Linked DNA regions of Homo sapiens: all the other regions are linked to region 1. Evidence: promoter capture Hi-C in human tissues and cell types (Jung and others, 2019). All regions are on one chromosome and are shown on one strand. Each heading gives the region's core, a stretch centred on a gene start or on the middle of the fragment in contact. The rest is flanking DNA. Distances are from core to core; before and after follow the strand shown.

Region 1 (3,923 bases), core at 1,062-3,561:
AGGGTAACCGGGGGTTAAGACATAAGCAAATGAAGGGGTGCAGCCAGTTCTAGGCAGCATACAGGCCACATCTTCAATCCTATGATAACGAGACAGAAGTTTCCACTTCCGCCTCCGATTGACCGTGGGGCCAAATCTCCACTTCAGCCTCTGATTGGCTGTGGGCCAAGTCTCCACTTCAGCCTCTGATTTGGTCGCAGGCCAATCCTTCATAGGTGTAGCCAACTGGAGGCTTCTAAAGGGCACCTAGGGGTGTTGCCAGGTCCCTTTAGCTTAATACAAACCCTGATTGAGGAGGCTCTTGAGCAGCTTGCTCTAACCAGCTGCCGCTATGAATCGTCTTCAATAAATCTATGCTTTTGTTATTCCGTTCTTCTGTTGCTGTTTGTCTTTCGTTGCCCTTCTGTTACTTTATGTGTTTTGTTCAACACGCCAAGAACCTGGACAACTCTATGCTGGTAACAACTGCAGGTAACCTGGTAACAACTGCAGTTTCAAACTCTCCTGGGCTCAACCCCAGCCTCCCAGGTAGCTGAGACTATAGACGCATGCCACCACACCTGGCTAATTTTTTTATTTTTATTTTTATTTTTGGAGACAGAATCTCACTCTGTCGCCCAGGCTGGAATGCAATGGCATGATCTCGGCTCACTGCAACCTCCGCCTCCCAGGTTCAAGCGATTCTCCTGCCTCGGACTCACAAGTAGCTGGGTTTACAGGAGCACACTACCACGCCTGGCTAATTTTTGTATTTTTAGTAGAGATGGGGTTTCACCATGTTGACCAGGCTGGTCTCAAACTCCTGAACTCAAGTGATGCTTCCTGGCTCGGCCTCCTGAAGTGCTAGGGTTACAGATGTAGTTTTTAAAGTTTTTGTAGAGTGGGGTCTTGCTGTGTTGCCCAGGCTGGTCTTAGACTCCTGGCCTCATGTGATCCTCCTCGGTCTCCCAAAGTGCTGTGATTACAGGTGTGAGCCATTGTGCCCAGCCCAATTTTTAATTAAAAAATGGAATGATGGAATGCACATTACTTTGCATCTTTTCCCCCTTAAAAATACATTCTTAGTATACCTAAAGGAGTAAATCTACCTCATTCTTTTGAAAAGTGGCCTAATATTCCATAGAATGGGTGTATCGTGATTTATTCAATTTATTTAATGTATCAGTGGGCATTCTGGCTGGTTCCAGATTTTTGCCATTGAACAATCTCATGCATACATCTTTATGATGTGGTGCACTTAAAATCTTTAAGAGACAGATTCAATATCTTAAGGTGTAACAACCACCCAGATCATGGTACTTTTATCCTTATATTAAAATTTTTTTCTGTTAACCTTGGATAGCTGCTTACATATTTTTTCTTTTTCAAAATTTTTCTATTAACCTTGACATGGTGCTTTTACTTCCTAAAGTGGAATTCCTGTATGAAAGCCTATGAGCTTTTATATCTTACTCATTGCAGCTGCATTACTGTGGGAGCTGTCCCTCTAGAGACACTGGGCTGCAATGGGAAGTGTCAGGGAGAGCTTAAGCTCCATATCACTTGAGTCTAAACCTGGAGGGATAGAGCGTGTCCGTGAGGATCCCAGGGCCTGGAGAGCAATTTAGGGTAATATTCAGAAAGCAGCGCTCAGGAGAAGCACTGGGACGCTGTTTAGGTAAAATCAACCCAAAAGACCCTGATTCCCAGAGTACTTTGAGGTCCAGAAGAACTGGGCTGGAAGCAGGTCCTGCTATTAATTGGCTGTGATCTTGGGCAAGTTATTTAACTTCTCCAGGTCACAGTTTGCTCTTTGGAAAACGGAGATAAGTCACACCTGCTTTCAGGGCGGACACCCTTACTTTACATCAGAATCATCCGATGCCATTCCTAGCGTTTCGGCTTCAGTAGGTGGGAATCAATTATTTGCATTTCTAATAGGTAATCAGTTGATAATGATGCGGCCGGTCCGGTACACTCGAAAAACCACTGTTCCAGGATATTCCAAGATGTTCCAAGAGTCTTAAACACCTGGTGCAGTTCCGAGCACAAGGCACACGAACGGTGCTATTAGCGTTTCTAACCCCGCAGAGAACTCCTCGCACCCCAGTCCTCAAAATCCCGCCCCGGACAGCGGAGGCCGGGGCAGTAGCTTCCAGACCCAATTGCCCGCGCAAGGGGGCGTGGCAGCATCGTTGGGCGGGGCCGCCTGTAAGAGAACGCGGCTAAAGGTGGGGCCAAGCGTGCGGTTTGCTGCGCCTGCGTGAGGAAAAAGAGGGGGGCGTGGCTCCAGGCCGGAAGAGGGAGTCTGTAGGGGCGGGCCGGCTGGCGTCCCCTTTCCGGCCGGTCCCCATGGAGGCGCTGGGGAAGCTGAAGCAGTTCGATGCCTACCCCAAGACTTTGGAGGACTTCCGGGTCAAGACCTGCGGGGGCGCCACCGGTAGGCCGCAGCGGGGCCGGGGTCGCGTGGAGGGGGGCGTCCTAGAGCTTAGCCCGGGCTCCTGGACTCTGACTGGCCTGCCGGTGTCTGAGGGAGCGGATTCGAGGCCATTCTGACCCTCGCCCCTTGTCCTGCAGTGACCATTGTCAGTGGCCTTCTCATGCTGCTACTGTTCCTGTCCGAGCTGCAGTATTACCTCACCACGGAGGTAAGGGGCGGGGCTTAGTGCGTGGGCGGGGCTTGGCATTCTAGGAGTAGGACCTTTAGGGGTGGGAGTGGGGAAGGAGAGGTTTGGGGCTAAGTCTTACTGAGGTAGCGCTGCCCCAGGTGCATCCTGAGCTCTACGTGGACAAGTCGCGGGGAGATAAACTGAAGATCAACATCGATGTACTTTTTCCGCACATGCCTTGTGCCTGTGAGTACCTCACCATGGGTGGGACTGGAGAGACCCAGGGTTCTCATGTGGGCTGCCAGATTCACACCTCCACCCTTAGGTTCTGGACTGGACCCCAGGACAACCTCCTTCTCCTCATCCCGTTCTGCCCCAAGACAGGCCCAGTATCCCCTTCCCCTCCAAAACCCACATCCCCTTGTCCCTAGGGTCCCAGTACCTTAGCCTGATTTTCCTGCTTCCAGATCTGAGTATTGATGCCATGGATGTGGCCGGAGAACAGCAGCTGGATGTGGAACACAACCTGTTCAAGCAACGACTAGATAAAGATGGCATCCCCGTGAGCTCAGAGGCTGAGCGGCATGGTAACCAGGGGAGGGGGCCGGGTCTCAGATCCCAAAGCTGGATGTACCCAAGCCTATCTGCTAGCAAGTGAACTGTGGCAGGCATAGTGATACATTAAACAACTAAGAGCTAGAGAAGTCAAGTGACTTGCCTAGGGTCCCCCAGCTAGTAAGAGTCAGAGTGAGCTAAAATCCTCTATACATATCGAGTCAGGTAATCTACCTGGCTATTATTCTCAGAGGTCCTCAATACCTGCAGATGGTAGTTTGAATACCAGAGGTTTGAAGATAGGTCTTATGTGCTCTTGCCTTGGTAGAACTGTCTAGATGGACCCAGGCTTCTTTGAGTGTTTGCTTTCCCAGCCCATTGGCTTAATTCAGCCCTTAATGCTCTTCCCCTTTGGAATGCAGGTGGTTTAATGAGAATTTAGGTTCTCAAGTCAGATTGCCTGGGTTCACATCTAGCTTTGTCTCCTGCAGTCTGTGAGCTTCAGCTAGAAAGTGGTAATAAAACAGTAGTACCAACCACATGGAATTGTAAGATCAAATGAAGTCATATGTGTAAAATGCCTGGTACAGAGTGGGTACCCACTTTTACCTTCCTTTCCTTTATCTTGGTGGCTTCCCAATTCCCTTCGTTAACTCAGTTTCCCACCACAGCAAACTGTCCTCAAAGCTGGGATTTCTAACACCTTAGAGATTACTCTGGTGGGGAGTTTTATCATTCGTTGTTTCAGCAGATTAATGCAGGACACCAGTGGAACCAACA
Region 2 (3,923 bases), core at 1,015-3,514, 650 kb before region 1:
CTCTTTCTCCTTTCATTTCCTTCCCTTTCCTTCCCTTGTTTGTCTCACTCTGTTGCTCAGGCTGGAGTGCAGTGGTGCAGTTGTGGCCCACTGTAGCCTCAAACTCCAAGGTCCAAGTGATCCTCCCACCTCAGCCTCCTGAGTAGCTAGGAGCACAGTCATGCACCAACACAATCAGCGAATTTTATTTTTATTTTTATTTTGAGACAGAATTTTGCTCTTGTTGCCCAGGCTGGAGTGCAATGGTGTGATCTTGGCTCGCTGTAACCTCTGCCTCCTGGGTTCAAGCAATTCTCCTGCTTCAGCCTCCTGAGTAGCTGGGATTACAGGCACACACCACCATGCCCAGCTAATTTTTTTTTTTTTTTTTTTGTATTTTTAGTGGAGACGTGGTTTTGCCATGTTGGCCAGGCTGGTCTCAACTTCCTGACCTCAGGTGAGCTTCCTGCCTCAGCCTCCCAAAGTGCTGGGATCACAGACGTGAGCCGTTGTGCCTGGCCAGCTTGGAATTTTGAATTAGAGAAGGTACAAGAGAAGACTGCAAAATCTCAGATATAGGAGGGCCTTGGACTACCTATTATCTCTTTTTGGGATATAAAGTTTTTAGAACAGCCCTCTTCTAGGGTTCTAAGGTCTGGTCTACTTATGGTTTTACTATCATGGTTTATTATCATGGTTACCTTATGGTTTTACCATCTTGGAGCATCATTATTTTATTTAAATAAAATAAATACAACCCTGAAACTATTCACCCTGGAATACTTTACACACAGAGTTGCCCGTACAGAAAACATCTCTAGAGCATATGAACACCTGCATTTCTAAGTGTGATTTTTTTGACCAGAGACTAATTTTTGAAACCAACGTTTGCTTCTTTTTGACCATGATATTTTAATACATGAAAATCTATCCAAAGGAGCAGTCACAGAGGGTTCTTGTTGAACTTTAGTTTCTGAGCTGCTTTTGAGGATGGTTACTTGAGGTGTCCTCCAAACTGCCACATATAGTGAGTTAGAGAATCTGCCAGGCACAGTGGCTCATGCCTGTAATCCCAGAACTTTGGGAGACTGAGGAGGGAGGATCACTGAACTCAGGAGTTTGAGATCAGCCTGGGCAACACAGGTAGACCCCATCTCTATAAAAAATTTTAAAATTAGGCCAGGCGTGGTGGCTCACACCTGTAATCCCAGCTACTCGGGTGGCTGAGGCAGGAAAATCGATTGAACCTGGGAGGCAGAGGTTGAAGTGAGCCAAGATCATGCCACTGCACTCCGGCCTGGGTGACAGAGTGAGACTCTGTCTCAAAAAATAATAATAATAAATAAAAAATTAGCTGGGTATGGTCATGCATGCCTGTGGTCCCAGATATTTGGGAGGCTGAGGTGGGAGGATTTCTTGAGCCTGGGAGGTTGAGGCTGCAGTGAGCGGTGATCGTGCTACTGCACTCCAGCCTGGGTGAGACCCTGTCTCAAAAAAGAAGTTAGGGAGTCCTAATACAACATCTGGATTTGTTAAAAATCTGTCTAGTTGTTTTCATATGATGGGAAACAAACTGACAGAAATCTAATTTTATTTATATGGATAGCCATGCTGTACTTGCTAAGACCACAAGAATAGGCTCAGAGAGAGGGGAAAGTTTGTGTAAATTATACATTGAATTAGGGGTAAACAATCTAGTCTGATGACTCCATATTCAGAGCCAGGGTTTCCCAATTTTAGTTTATGTAAATAATTACCTGAGGATGTCGTTAGAAATCCAGATTTCTGGACCCTATCCCAGACTATTGAGTTAGAATCTCCAGAGGATAAGACCTCTGACTTGTATTTTTGTAACCTCCTCAGACAATTCTGATGTTGGGGGGAGGGACAAAGTACCATTGAAAAATTATTTAGATTAATAACCTTAAACTCTTAAAATTATATACCTAAAAGAATTTTGAAAAATTATGTAACTCTTGACATAATGTTCATATCTAAAAATTTTATCATAAGATTTAAAAATTGCAAAAAATCGAATTTCCAAAACATTTTACATATTATATACACACATATATATATATGCACATATAGGTTATACCTCTTTCAAAACATTGGCACTGCAAATTTAGCTCATATAATTTATAGAAGACATCTACCATACAACCTGTTTTGCATAGCCAGTTATCACCCAACATAATCAGCCAAATCAGATCTACTGTGTTAGAAATTGCCTAACTTCTTTCTTAAGATAAATATGTTAATATATGACTCTGTGATAACTGTTTCACTTCTGAGTTGTAATTCTAAGAGATATAAGGCAAGTAGTCTTGCCATGAGTTTGTTACGTGGATGAATTAAGATGCCAATTCTTTCAATACTGATTTCTCAGAGAAGCTCTCATTGATTTGCTTTCTTGGGGCTCTCCCTCAGAAGTTATACATTCTCAAATTGTCCCTTTGTTTAACACTTTGTTCATACCCTGTCATTGTACCATAATAAAGTTTGAGATAAGAGAGAGCTATGACATTCTTGTTTAACGTGGGAGAAGGGTAATTGTAAAAGAGAGTGAGAAAGAAGAACCAACTCAGACAGATCATTGTTAGGAAATATTACATATGGAAGTTGAGGATCTAGACATTTATTCTCTTCATATTTTTCTGTGCAGGTACTCACAGGAATAGAGTACCGTAGATTGAGGACTAATGATTTAAACTGCCTTTGACCTAGATAATAGAGAACCATTGTAATGAATATTTTTGCATGTGTCTATTATACTTGAGAGACTTGATGTACACATAAAATGATGCCCCTGGATTTTCTTTCCACTTTCTGTTTCTGCTCTAGGCATATTCCTCTTTTGGGCTGCATTCCAAATGCTCTGCCCTCATTCACTTGTTATAGGTAAGGCCAGCATGGGACACAGGATGGTAGGAACAAGTGTGTGATTCCCCTCCTGTAAGTAGGCATGTAGGCAGTGAGAAAAGAGAAGAGGTACACAATCCATCGGGCACCAAAGCCACTTTGGCCAAGGGGAACATGCAAAAGGTATTTGGATCAAGGCCTGAAAATAGCTGGCAAGAGGACAGGGTACAATAATAGCCCAGACTGCAGGGCAGGAGTCCCATACTCTGAACCTCAGCTCCAGGGTTCTCTTCCAGCCTCTTCACAGAGTCCCAGACTGAGCCCACTGTAGGATCTCAAGAAACACTTCTTGACATGATTCCAAAATCCATTCCACAAATTCCACTCTTGTCTTTCCTCTGCCTGTCCAGCATCTATCTTGTTTATCTGTATCCTATCTTATCCCCTCTCCTTCCATACTTTCTCTCTTTGATCATCTTGGATCCAGCTGGTCATATAAGCAGAGATAAGTTTGTTCATTTATTTATTCATTCTTTTATCTATTCATTTTACAATTATGTATTAAGTGCTCACTGTGTATTGGCCTTTGTGGTAAGCACTAAGGAGAAAACATATAAAAAGATATCCTGTCTGCCATTAAGGAACTCATAATCCAGTGAGGGAAACAGATGTCTACATAGGACTCTAGTGCTAGAAAAAAATAAGTGCCCAAGTGTTGTCTTTAGAAATAAACAGGCTGGGCGTGGTGGCTCACGCCTGCAATCCTAGCACTTTGGGAGGCCAAGGCGGGCGGATCACTTGAGGTCAAGAGCCTGGCCAACATGGTGAAACCCTGTCTCTACTAAAAATATAAAAATTAGCCTGTGGTGGCGGGGGCCTGTAGTCCCAGCTACTCGGGAGGCTGAGACATAAGAATTGCTTGAACCCGGGAGGCGGAGGTTGCAGTGAGCCGAGATAGCACCACTGCACTCCAGCCTGGGCAACAGAGCTAGACTGTCTCAAAAAAAGGAAAAAAAAAAATAGAAAGAGGCAAGAATGAATGAATGAATAGTGCTTAATCTTTCTAATGAATGAATAGTTAC
Region 3 (3,923 bases), core at 789-3,288, 520 kb after region 1:
GTTTGAGACCAGCCTGGCCAACATGGTGAAACCCCATCTCTACTAAAAATACAAAAATTAGCCAGGCATGGTGGAGCACGCCTGTAGTCCCAACTACTCGGGAGGCTGAGGCAGGAAAATCGCTTGAACCCCGGAGGCGGAGGTTGCAGTGAGCTGAGATCGCGCCACTGCACTCCAGCCTAGGTGACAGAGAAGACTCCATCTAAAAAAAAAAAAAAAAAAAGCTCCCAATGGCCAAAGCTGGAACAATTTGAGCAACAAAATAACATAGTATTGGGATAAAGTTCAAAGTATAAACCAAATATCCATGAGTCCATACTGTTATAAATGATTAAATAAATAAATGAGGGAGGGCTGGGCGCGGTGGCTCACGCCTGTAATCCCAGCACTTTGGGAGGCTGAGGCAGGCAGATCACCTGAGGTCGGGAGTTCAAGACCAGCCTGACCAACATGGAGAAACCCCGTCTCTACTAAAAATACAAAATTAGCCAGGCGTGGTGGCGCATGCCTGTAGTCCCAGCTACTTGGGAAGGCTGAGGCAGGAGAATCTCTTAAACCTGGGAGGCGGAGGTTGTGGTGACCCAGTGTTGTGCCATTGTACTCCAGCCTGGGCAACAAAGTGAAACTCTGTCTCAATAAATAAATAAATAAATAAATAAATAAATAAATAAATAAGGGAGAAGAGACAAATGATCCTTAAAGAAGAATTCTAGATAATGTAGGTAGATACAACCCCTTCAGGTTGTGGAGCTTAATTCTCCCATTGAGTGTGGGCTGCACTTAGTAACTTGCTTCCAAAGAGTGGAAAGGGAGGAAAAACAAGCAACTTCCCAGGGGAGAAACTGGACAGACACTCGCTTGGCCAGGTAATCAAGTCATGTCGCTAACATGTATCCTGATGAAGTCATGTCAATAACATGTACCTATGATTTGATGAGAAGAGCAGTTTACCTCTATGACATGTTTCCCCAAACTCATAACCCCAGTCTAACTATGAGAAAAGCATCAGATGAACCCAAATTGAGGGGCACTCTGTAAAATACCTGTCCAGTACTCCTCAAAGCTGTCAAGGTCTTAAAAACCAAGAAATGCCTGAGTAATTGTTACAAGCCAGAAGAAACTAAAGGGACATGATGACTAAATGTAGTGTGGTGTCCTAGAAGGGACTCTGGAGCAGAAAACAGGTGGAATTTAGTTCATAGGAATGTACCAGTGTTGGTTTCTTAGTTGTGACAAATGCCATAGTAATGTAAGGTGGTAATAATAGGGGAAGCAGGGTGAGGGCTATACAGGAACTCTCTGTACTCTTGAGTATGATGGTTAAGTTCATGTGTCAACATGGAGGGTGGTTTTGGATGATATTAGCATTTAAATGGTTGAACTTGGGTGTGGGCGGGCCTCATTTGATCAGTTGAAGGCCTGAATAAAACAGAAAGACTGGCCTCCCTAAGCAAGATGGAATTCTCCGGCAGGCTGCCTTCAAACTGCACCATTGGCTCTCCTGGGTCATCAGCCTGCAGGCCCACACTGTGGGATTCGGGCTTGCCAGCCTTCATAATTAGGTAAGCCAATTCTTTATGATAAATCTCTTTTATGCACACACACACCGTATTGGTTCTCTTTCTCTGGTGAGCCCTAACACAATGGGAAATTTCTGTACTCTAAATCAAAGACTTACATTTATTTTCTGTAAATGTAAAATTATTTTAAAATAATAAGTTTATTTTAAAAAGAGAGAAGGCTGGGTGCGGTGGCTCATGCCTATAATCCCAGTACTTTGGGAGGCCGAGGTGGGTGGATCACCTGAGGTTGGGAGTTTGAGACCAGCCTGGCTAACATGGTGAAACCCCATCTGTACTAAAAATACAAAAATTAGCCAGGCGTGGTGGCGCATGCCTGTAATCCCAGCTACTTGGAAGGCTGAGGCATGAGAATTACTTGAATCCATGAGGCAGAGGTTGCAGTGAGCCGAGATCACGCCACTGCACTCCAGCCTGTGCAACAGAGCGAGACTCTGTCTCAAAATAAATAAATAAATAATAAAAAGAGAAAAAAAGAGGCATGAATTTTGAAGTCATGTAGATCCATTTATTTGTTTCCTGTGGGTGCCAAAACAAATTACTACAAGCCTGGTAGCTTAAAACAACAGAAATTTATTCTCTCATAGTTCTGGAGGCCATAAATTGAACATGAGTTTCACTGAGCTGAAGTCAATGTGTTGGCAAGGCTGTATTCCCTCCAGATGCTCTGGGGAAGAATCCGTCTGCCTCTTCCAACTTCTGGTGGCTGCCAACAATCCTTGGCTTGTGGCCACATCAGTCTCTGCCTCCATGGTCACATTGCTTCCTCTTCTTCTGTGTGTGTTGGTCTAATCTTCCTTTCCCTCTCTCTTATAAGGATATGTGTGATGGAATTTAGGGCCCACTTGGCTAATCCTCAATGATATCCTCATCTCAACATTCTTAATCACATCTGCAAAAATTATTTTCTCAAATAAAGTAATGTTTACAGTAGTTTCCAGAGATTAGGACTTGATATATTTGGGTGGCCATTATTCAGCCTACTACACCCTGGCTGTGTGAAATGTAGGACTTTTGTAGTATGAGTAAGCCGGCTCTATACTTAAAAATAAAAACTATGACATAACCTGGTTTTAAAAAATGTTCATCTGGGTTCCACCTGAAATCATCGTATTATGACCACTAGTGAGGTAGGAGGCAGGACTCGAGTCTGGAGGTGGGGTTCAGACACTGGACCAAATTGAGGACTAGCTAAAGCAGGGATGGGGTAGAAGAAGCTTTCCATAAGACATGCCCACCAGTGTGCCATGCCAGTTTACCATTGCCATGGCAACACTCAGAGGTTACTGCCCTTTCCATGGTAGTGACCCAAGACCAAGAAGTTACCACCTTTTTCCTAGAAATTTCTGCATAATCTGCCCCTGAATTTGCATGTAAATAAAAGTGGGTATAAATATGACTGCAGAACTGCGTTTGAGCTGCTACTCTAGGCACACTGCCTATGGGGTAACCCTGCTCCACAAGAAGCAGTACGTCTGCTGCTGCCGAACACTGCCACTTCAATAAAAGTTACTATCTGACATCACTGACTTACCCTTGAATTCTTTCAAGTCAAGAACCCTCCTGGGCTAAGCCCCAATTGGGATCACCTGCCCTGCCTTGGTGGGACCCAAGCCACACTTTGCCAAACAGTGTAAGAGATTGGTCTTAGAGGTCAGAGAGTTCTACATTCTAACTCTGGCAAGCCTGTGACTTTGGTTAAGTCAACATATTCCTTGAAGACTATCTCTTCATCTGTACAAGAGGACACTAGCCCTGACTCAGAGGAATGCTGTCAGAACTCCTGCAGACTGTGAAACAGATGCACAACAAATGATCAGTCACATTCTCCTCCCCCTCCATTTTATAGTTTGTTACACTTCACAAAATATTTTCTACATACAATAATGTTTGATCCCCATAAAATGTGTGAGATAAAGCCAAACGTTTCCTTCTCAGATGGAGAAACTGAGACTTGATGTCAACTGACTTAGCCAACTTTGCCTAACTAGAAGACTAGAAGCAGTGGGTGTCTGAGAGCATAGTCAGCAGAAGCAAAGAGGCAGATGCCCCCCGGAGATGGGGCAGGTTTGCTGATCTGGCATTTGATTTTTTTTTTTTTTTTTTTGAGAGGGAGCTTCACTCTGTTGCCCAGGCTGGAGTGCAGTGGCGCAATTGCGACTCACTGCAACCTCTGCCTCTCAGGCTCAAGGTGATTCTCCTGCCTTGGCCTCCTGAGTAGCTGGGATTACAGGCACCCACCACTACACCCGGCTAGTTTTTGTATTTTCAGTAGAGACAGGCTTTCACCATGTTGGCCAGACTGCTCTTGAACTCTTGACTTCAAATGATCCACCCACCTCG

What was found. Contacts are between HindIII fragments. The study calls those that stand out against the background at their distance.
Region 2: a fragment that was not itself captured here is called in contact with the fragment with the promoter of ERGIC3 in region 1 in 1 of the 25 tissues and cell types used here (adrenal gland).
Region 3: a contact is called between a fragment that was not itself captured here and the fragment with the promoter of ERGIC3 in region 1, in 1 of the 25 tissues and cell types used here (spleen).

The regions. Positions count from the first base shown.
Region 1 is chr20:35,539,767-35,543,689 of GRCh38, forward strand. It overlaps ERGIC3 (ERGIC and golgi 3), which reads left to right and starts at 2,312. Exons shown (of 13, transcript NM_015966.3): 1 at 2,312-2,419; 2 at 2,557-2,627; 3 at 2,747-2,834; 4 at 3,056-3,175. The coding sequence starts at 2,332. RefSeq lists an enhancer at 1,984-2,073. The HindIII fragment of the contact is 35,337 bases long and covers 1-3,923 here.
Region 2 is chr20:34,893,187-34,897,109 of GRCh38, forward strand. The region is part of intron 2 of ACSS2 (acyl-CoA synthetase short chain family member 2); the gene reads left to right. Among named protein-coding and RNA genes, the nearest start is that of ACSS2, 19 kb to the left of the region's middle. The HindIII fragment of the contact is 9,741 bases long and covers 1-3,923 here.
Region 3 is chr20:36,059,666-36,063,588 of GRCh38, forward strand. No RefSeq gene overlaps it. Among named protein-coding and RNA genes, the nearest start is that of NORAD, 11 kb to the left of the region's middle. The HindIII fragment of the contact is 8,994 bases long and covers 1-3,923 here.